2 separate regions of the Homo sapiens genome follow, and region 1 is linked to region 2. Evidence: promoter capture Hi-C in human tissues and cell types (Jung and others, 2019). All regions are on one chromosome and are shown on one strand. Each heading gives the region's core, a stretch centred on a gene start or on the middle of the fragment in contact. The rest is flanking DNA. Distances are from core to core; before and after follow the strand shown. Region 1 overlaps MMP24-AS1-EDEM2 (MMP24-AS1-EDEM2 readthrough). Region 2 holds the start of FAM83C (family with sequence similarity 83 member C).

What was found. The method cuts DNA at HindIII sites, captures the fragments that hold promoters and counts their contacts. A contact is called where the count stands out against the background at its distance.
Region 1: a contact is called between a fragment that was not itself captured here and the fragment with the promoter of FAM83C in region 2, in 2 of the 25 tissues and cell types used here (adrenal gland and spleen).

What each region holds. Positions count from the first base shown.
Region 1 is chr20:35,257,091-35,261,395 of GRCh38, forward strand. All of the region lies in intron 2 of MMP24-AS1-EDEM2 (MMP24-AS1-EDEM2 readthrough), which reads right to left. The region is part of intron 4 of MMP24 (matrix metallopeptidase 24); the gene reads left to right. Among named protein-coding and RNA genes, the nearest start is that of MMP24-AS1-EDEM2, 19 kb to the right of the region's middle. RefSeq lists an enhancer at 4,184-4,305. The HindIII fragment of the contact is 5,720 bases long and covers 1-4,305 here.
Region 2 is chr20:35,290,226-35,294,204 of GRCh38, forward strand. It overlaps FAM83C (family with sequence similarity 83 member C), which reads right to left and starts at 2,200. Exons shown (of 4, transcript NM_178468.6): 1 at 1,567-2,200. The coding sequence starts at 2,079. The HindIII fragment of the contact is 12,597 bases long and covers 602-3,979 here.

The DNA.
Region 1 (4,305 bases), core at 1,201-3,700, 33 kb before region 2:
TGTTTGGTGTCTATAGTTGGGGATCACCTCCTTGAGAACACTTTATATCATCGCATGGATTAGGGATTGGCAGCTCTGGGGTTATCTGTCAAAGGCTGGACCAGGAGGTGGTTTGGCCAAGGCTCAGCCTAGGCAAAGTCATGAACCTGTTAAATTGTTCTTTGTCCTCTTCTTTCTTCAGATTTTTGTCCTCTTTCCTATTGAACTCCGTTTCCTTTGCCCTGGTATCTCTCCCGTATGTCCTGCATGTATTCCTGGCTGAGTACCTGTTCTTTATCTCATTCTTATTTTTGGATCGGTGTCAACGAATGGCTGTCTGTGCTAACAGATAAGATGTGAGGAGAAGAGAACTAATATTTTTGAGGCCCTGTTATGTGCCAGGCACTGTTAGCTGATAGGGTTTTAGTTATATTCCTGATAGAGGCAAATGAATGTCCAAAGAGTTGTCCAGAGGCAACGGGAAGACACTCCCACTCCTCTGCCCTCCCCTTCTGCCCAGCACTGGGGGTGTGCACTTCCCACACCTGCTCCTTGCTTTTGCAGAACTTGTTGGACCCAGCCCCCAAATCCCAAGAGCCGGTGGTATGTGTGGGAAGGACCGGGGACCTGTGGATGGGCACCATCCCAGCACCTCTCCCATCTGTCCAACCCTAACCTTCATGAAAGACTGCCAATTCTGATAGAAATTCCAAGATTGCTAATGTTTTCTTTGGATAAGAATCAGGACTTTGCTCTGCTCTGGAAAACCAAGCAGGAACTGTCCAGATGCAGCTCAGGACCACAGCAATCGACTCCTGAACTGGAATGCAGTGAAGGCAGGTTTTGGGTGAGAGGCAAGGAACCAAAATTTATTGAGCATCCATATATTATCTCGTTTAATTTCCACATAGACTCAGCAAAGGGGTGGAGTTTCCTGGGAACTTTTTGAACTTATTAGCTTACTTCTTTTTTCTAAACTCTCATTATGGAAAATTTCAAACTCACAAAAGTAGGAAGAATGCTTCTATGATCTCCCAGATACCCACCACCTGCCTCAGCAATTATCAACGTTGTGGCATTCCTATTTATCTACCTTTTTTTGGCTGATGTATTTTAAAGAAAATCTCAGGCATTCTAACATTTCACCTTTAAATACTTTAGTATATACCTCTAACAGATAAAGGCTAATTTTTAACATAAGCACACAATCATTATCAAGCCCAACAAAATTAACAATAATTTTTTAAAATCTAATACCCAGTTCGAGTTCACTTTCCCAAAGTACCTTGGAAATGTCTTTTACAGTTGTTTGCTTGAATCAGGATCCAAACAAGATCCACACACACATGGCTGACATGTCTCTTAAAGCCCTTTTTATTTAAAACACCCCCGTCCTACACACACGTTTCCCTCCATATATTTGTTGAAGAAACTGGGTCAGGTGTCCCGAGTATAATCATTTGGCGTGACTAGAATCAAGTTTACTTTTAATACGTCTCTCTTGCCCATAATTCCTGAATGTTGTTCATTAGATTTACAGGCTGACTAGATTCAAGTTCAATTTTTTTGGCAAGAATACTTCCTAGGTGGTGCTGGTACTTCCTATTCACCATATTAGCAAATACATATGATGCAGACTGTCCCACTTTTAGTGATGTTGAGGTCGAGCATTTGCTTCAGGTTGTGTCAGCCTGACCCAACCATTATACAATTCACCTGGAGAACTTAAAAAAAAAAAACAACAAAAAAGATTGCCTACGTCCCAAACCAAACCTCCTGAATCAGAATATCTTCCCCACCTCCTCCATGTGTTTAAAAGGCTCCCCGGGCCAGGTGCGATGGGAGCACTGGAGTAATCCCAGCACTTTGGGAGGCCGAGGGGGGGCAGATCACCTGAGGTCAGGAGTTCGAGACCAGCCTGGCCAACATGGCAAAACCCCGTCTCTACTAAAAATACAAAAATTAGCCGGGTGTGGTGGCACATGCCTGTAATCCCAGCTACTCGGGAGGCTGAGGCAGGAGAATGGCTTGAACCCGGGAGGCGGAGGTTCAAGTGAGCCGAGATTGCACCACTACACTCCAACCTGGGTGACAGAGTGAGATCCTGTCTCAAAAATAAAAAAGAAAGAAAATACTTTTTAAAAAAATAGGAAATTCACCCCTTTGGAAAGTGGCAGAGCCAGGTGTGACCCCAGGACTCCGCATTTTTAAGTCACCACAGGTGGTTCTGCTGCAGGTGGTCCGAGTATTTCCCTTGGTAAAATACGGTGCTTTTGGCGCTGTTCCATTCCGGGGGCTGTCACCTGGTTCTTCAACACAAAGCTTGTCCTCAAGGAACCCACAGTCCTGGGGCAGCGAGCATGTGCACTAGTGGCAATCACGTGGGGAGGAAGCGGTCAGTGCCATAAAGGCAGTTCAGGGAAACTGCTGGGAGGGCACAGCAGAAGGAGCACTCACTGCCAGCTGGGAAGTCATGGAAGGCTTCCTGGAAGACAGGCATGGAGCTGAACTTTGAAGGAATCAGGTTATTCCAGGGGAAGGGGCAGCACTGGCAGAAGAACAGAGGCAAAGGGAAATGCTATCACCTTTCGTGGGGCTGGGGGAGTTAATGAGATGGGAACGACCAAATATGGAGATCCTAAAAGAAAGAAATGAGGCAGAGACAAGGTCCACTTGAGTAGCCGAGTAGACTGCTGGGGACTTGCTCGGAGGCCCAGGGACTTACAGGAACACACCCTATCAGGGGTGCTGGTGCTCACACACAGCTCAACAGGACCCTGCTAATGAAGGGTAATACTTCTGTACCAGGAGCTGGTATCAGCGCATTACACACCCTGCCCCATGAATCTTCACCCACATCCCTATGACGAAGGTGCCATTGTTCCTTCTATCTTCCAGAGGAAGAATTTAAAATGTCACACTGCTAGGACATGGCAGAGCTGGGATTCAAAACCAGGCAGTCTGGCTCCCAGAGACTGCATTCCTGACCACTCTGCTTCCCTGCCGCTCACCCTCTTGAAGAGTGAAGACCCTAGCAGCCTCCTGCCCATGGAGCATGGGGTCCTCATAGCAGGCCTCTCCTCCTCATACCTCTGCCTTCACCTCACAAGCTCAGGGAGTCCTCCTGCCCCTGCCCTGCTCCCTCTGTCTCCCCCTCAGGGCTCTCTTGGGTTTCTGTGCAGCAGGATACTGGCTCCCTCGCTCTTCCCTTCCTTTTGGTTCCTGGACCCAAACCACAGGCCTCTTTCCTTTAAGGGGTCACTCCTGTTCTCTGCAGACCCAGAACAGGGGTTAAAAGAGCAAGAGACAAGGCTGCGGACAAAGGTTTTGAGTCTCCCACAGTGCTCAGAGCCGTGTTCCCTGGTTCCCAGCTGAGCTCCCTGTGGACAGCCCCTGGGGAAGAGCCTGCTCAGGAGACAGAGGCCCTGAACAGCTTGTCCCAGGTCATAGAATAGCCCAGGAGCACAGCCAGGACTGGACCCCAGGAAGCAGAGCTGCCTTCCGCTGGCTCTACCAGTTTGTTTGGGATGGAGCTCAGCGATGAGCTCACCCTTCCCTGCTGCCAGAGGGGCCAGGACCTGAGTAAGGAGCTGGGGGCGGCCTGGCCCTCTCATGCCAGCAGAAGGCCAGCCCCAGGCTTTTGGCCAACCTTGCACTGATCTTGCCCATCCCCCTTCCTTTCCGTTGCTCAAAGGTGGCTTCACAGAAGACACTGGCGGTGTCAGTAGTGTGGGAGGCATGTACTGCCCGTGGCCTGGGTCTGCCCCATGGGGTTCTTCTCTCTTCCAGAGACCTAAGCCAGGAAGGCCAAACAATCCCCACCCCCATGTGTCCCTAGGCCAGTGACGCTGGGGCCAGAGTGGGCAGTAGGACTCTAGACCACCTCCTAGGTTCCTGGCAGCCTCCCTGGACTTACAGGTGGCAGGAATGGGCCGAGCCATGCCTTAGGGCCAGAAGATAAGAGGCAGGGCTCAAGGGGCTACAAATGCCAGAGGTCAAGGCAAGCAAGGGTCTGACACTGGGCAGACAGGAGTCAGGACTGGTGATCCACAGCCTACCTGACTCCCTACCCCCTGCATTTTCTCCCCAAAGCTGCGGTTACTTCATCCCCCTAAGTTCAGGCCTCCTTGTCCTGTCCTAGGCACAATACAGAAGCCCAGGGGAGTTGGCTTTCAGAGGATCTGGTTGCTGGCGCTCCACTGGCCTCGTGCTTCCTTTCTGGTCAATGGGCTTCCTCCAGTAACCAAGCTTCTATCTTACATAGGATTACAACAGCTGCCATTCTGTGTCATACCACGCACTTCACGTGTATCTTATTCAACCTCA
Region 2 (3,979 bases), core at 950-3,449:
AAAGGGCTGCCTCAAAGAGGCCCCTGAAACCTTCTTGGCACCTCCCAGCCCCCAGCTGGCCTTTCTTCCCATGGCATATATCTGCTATGAGAGTCTTCTCTCCCAGGCAGGGCCGAGAGGCAGGAGGTACAGAGCATAGCACTCCAGCTCTGGAGTCAGAAAGAACTGGGTTCAAACCTGGACTCTATCACTTCCTGGTGACACAGCTTTGGGTGAGTCCCTTCACCTCTGGAAGCCTCACCTTCCTCATCTGTTAAATGGAGATAATGATAGCCATGTCTCAGAGTTACAGGGAATTAAATGTGAAAATGCTCAAGACATAACAGAGCTCTATAAACATTGGGCTGCAGGGCAACGCAGCATTTCCCAAGGTCACTAGGAGTCATGACAGCCCAGTGCACGAACCTGGCTCCTGACCCAGGATAGAGGGGTCTAAATGGGGGCTGAGAAGGCGAGGCACTGGGGGATGCCCTAGTTCACAGCACAGGCCTGGCCAGGGTGGGGGAACAAGGACAGGCAGGAAGATCAAAGAGGCAGGGGTGAGGAGGACGACAGCAGCAGCCTCACTAATAACCCCATTCCTGATGCCAATCAGGCCTGGCCGTCCCCTGCCTGGGGCACAGGAAGGCTTGCCAGGGAGGCTCTGGAAGTACCGGTGGGATCCCAGCATCCTGGCTTCCCATCTCTGCAGCAGGAGCCTAACTCTCCCTCAAACCCTGCCAGGGATCATCTCGTCCATTCCCCTGGAGTCGGAGGCCAGGGCTTCAGAAGGGAAGCTGTGCTCGTGTGTGGCCAGAGCCTTTCTGGGTGCTGACCACCCCTACCTGCCCTCCCAATTCTCTTTCTCCTGAGCTCCCGCTCCCCATCACTGAGCCCAGCAGCCTCCTCTCCTCCTTCCTCCTTGGTTCCAAAGCCCAGCCCTCAAGGCCACGCCAAAGAGGCCCACACGCTGGCCCCTTCCCCTGCTTCAGGCCCAGCTGCAGATGTGGTGCAGGAGGGTAGGGGGCAACTAGGGACCTGAGCCAGCAAGGAGGGCCGGACTGGTCCCCAGGACCCAAGTCAGAGAGCCCCTGTCTCCCCAAGCCCTGAGCTCTATGTCACCATATGGACCTCCCTGGGCAAGTCCCAAGCCCCTCTCTGGCCTCAGTTTCTTCTTCTATAAGTGAAGGAGGTGACTCAGATGTTCCCCAAGGTTGGAGTTCTTAGTGTGGGGATCATAAAACTTTTTGAGAATCTGATTTAAGGCAGTGGAGCATCTTCCAAGGTAAAGATGCAGCGAGGACTCCTCCCTCCAACCTGCACCACTTCGTGTGCATTTCAGGGGATTGTGGAGTCCCTGACACCCATGCCCTGTTCTATGCTCATCCATACTATTCCTGGGTACCAAGCAGTTGCCAAGGTAAATATGGGATGTCCCCCTTCTAGGAGTTTGCAATCTAATAGTGCCAGAGGTGCTGGTCCTCATTCTGCCCCTAAGTCGCTGTGTGGCCTTGGGCTGGTCCCTTCCCTCTCTGGACCTCAGTTTCCTCCTCTGTGAGATGAGTGATGGAGAGATGAGGCCCTTACCGTGTGGGCCTGGCTGAAAAGGAAGCGCAGCAGGTCCTTGATGTTCTTGGCCTTGTCCCTCTGGAAGTGGACCACAGCCTGGGTGGGGCTGAAGCCTGTGGCCTGTGGCACCTCGGGCCAGCCCAGGTCCAGGTCTGGGGGGTCTATGTCAGAGGCCATGGGGAAGTAAGTCCCTGAGGTGACTTCAGAGAGCAGGCTGAGGCGGTCTGGCCCGGAGGCCTCCTGCCCCTGAGCCTCGCTGAGCTCAGGGCCCCCGCGCACATGGCTGGTCATGTAGTCCACATCCAGGGCGCTCAGGAAGGGCAGCTCCCGCTCCTCGGAGATGACCCGCAGGTAGGCAGCCTCACCCCGCTCCAGGAGGGCGTCGGCCGCCAGCCGAGCCGCCTCGCTGTGCCGCAGCACCAGCGGTGAGCTCTCCCGCCACCACGGCAGCTTCAGCTCTTCCACCCGGCCCCGCAGGGGTCCCGCCATGCCCTGGGCTCCCAGGACCCCAGGCCCCGGGCCTCCGAACATGCCTGCCACGCGGCTGCCTCACCCGCCGGCAGGGCCCATGGCCCGCACGCTGGGCTGGCTGCAGCAGGAAGAGGAGACCAGCAGAACCGCCTTCTGCCCGCCCGCTCGCTGTGTGTGTGGCAGGGCCCCCAAACTGTTGCCACCCTAAATCAGAGCCACGCTCCACCCTATTGCCCCTGGCCTCTGGAACCTGTCAGGTCAGCCCCACCTGTCTGCCTGTGTTGGGACTCGCCTGCCCAGGGAAGCGGCAGTGCCAGGCCCTCGGTGCACACTCCTGCCTCCCTCTCTTCCTCCCAGCAACGCCGCCCCATCCCCACCAGGCTCCCAGCAAGTCTCCAAATGCTGACTTCCCGGGACCCACAGAGGTTGAATTACAGCCAAGAGGGGCCCAGGCGACTCAGGAACACACACTCACACGCACACGCACACACACTGCAGGTGGGTGAGCGACTCAAGACACCCAGGAAAAGACATGAACACCCATGCAGATGGACACACTGACAACTGACCGATACACAGACATGGAGTGTGGGCTGACACAGACCGACCACACATTGTAATCACATCCACTTGCATAAACTCTTCACCCAAACGCCGATGTAGAGACCGGCCATGACCCCCACAACACATACCACAGTGGATAGCACGTGCCCTGGCTCAAGTCTGCAAGGCCCTGAGAGCTGAACGACTGTCACATGGAATATCCAAGGACATCAACGCTGGTCTGTCCCCCAGCCAGCCCTCTTTTTGCTCCCATAATCGTCCTGCCACTCTCCATCATCTTAACTGTGGTGCTCACAGCCCCCTGGCTCTCTCCCACCCCGGCTCGGAGCTGTCCTTCAAGAACCTAGAGCAGTGGCTCTCACCCTGACCCCAGGGGTGGTGAGAGGTGATGAAATGCAGATCCCCGGGCCCCACCCTCCTGGAAATTCTCATCCAGAAGGTGTCCGTAGGCTTCTGGAGCTTGTCTTTTTTCTTTTTCTTTTTGAGATAGGGTCTTGCTCTGTCACCCAGTCTGGAGGGCAGTGGCGCAATCACAGCTCACTACAGCTGTGCCTCAGTTTCTCTGGACTCGAGCGATCTTCCCACCTCAGCCTCCTGAGTAGCTGGGATTACAGGTGCATGTTACCATGCTCGGCTACTTTTAAAATTTTTTTAGAGATGGGATCTCACTATGTTGCCCAGGCTGATCTTGAACTCCTGGCCTCAAGCAATCCTCCTGTCTCAGCCTCCCAAAGTGCTGGGATTACAGGTGTGAGCCGCCACACCTGGCCATTTTTCTTTTTTAATTGAGACATGATCTTGCTCTGTCACCCAGGCTAGAGAGAGCAGTGATGTGATCATAGCTTACTGTAACCTCAAATTCCTGAGTTTTTAAACAAGTGCCCAGTGCACTGTGGGCAGTGGGCTAAGGCCCACCCCTGAGACATGCTGTTCCAGATGGCTGTGCTTGCAACACCCTTAACTCCAGGGATGTTCTTGGCCTGGTGGTGGCCAGACCCCAGCCTTCTTCCCCTCCTCCAGGGCTGAGTATGAAAATGGTTGGAAGGTTGTTTCAGAGAATGGGCGGACACACTGCAAGGTCAGGAGGCAAACAGGGCAGGTAGATTTCTGACCTCTGCCCCAACAAAGATTAAAGTCCTGGAGCATGTACCGTGTGTCCTTCGGAGGATGGTGAGCAGCTTTGCTCTGGGGAAGGGGGTGAGCAGGTGACAGCTGCAGCTGGGGAGCCAGGCTAGGCAGAAGCGGTCACCACCTTTCCACGGAGGCATGAGGTCCAGCGAGGATGGCGGGAAGCGCAGAAGACCTAAAGCCGTGCCTCGCAGCCTGTTTAGCACTAAGCGCACTTGGTTTATCTGGTCTGCGATCATGTCCGGAACACAGGGTCTTCTGTGTCCAA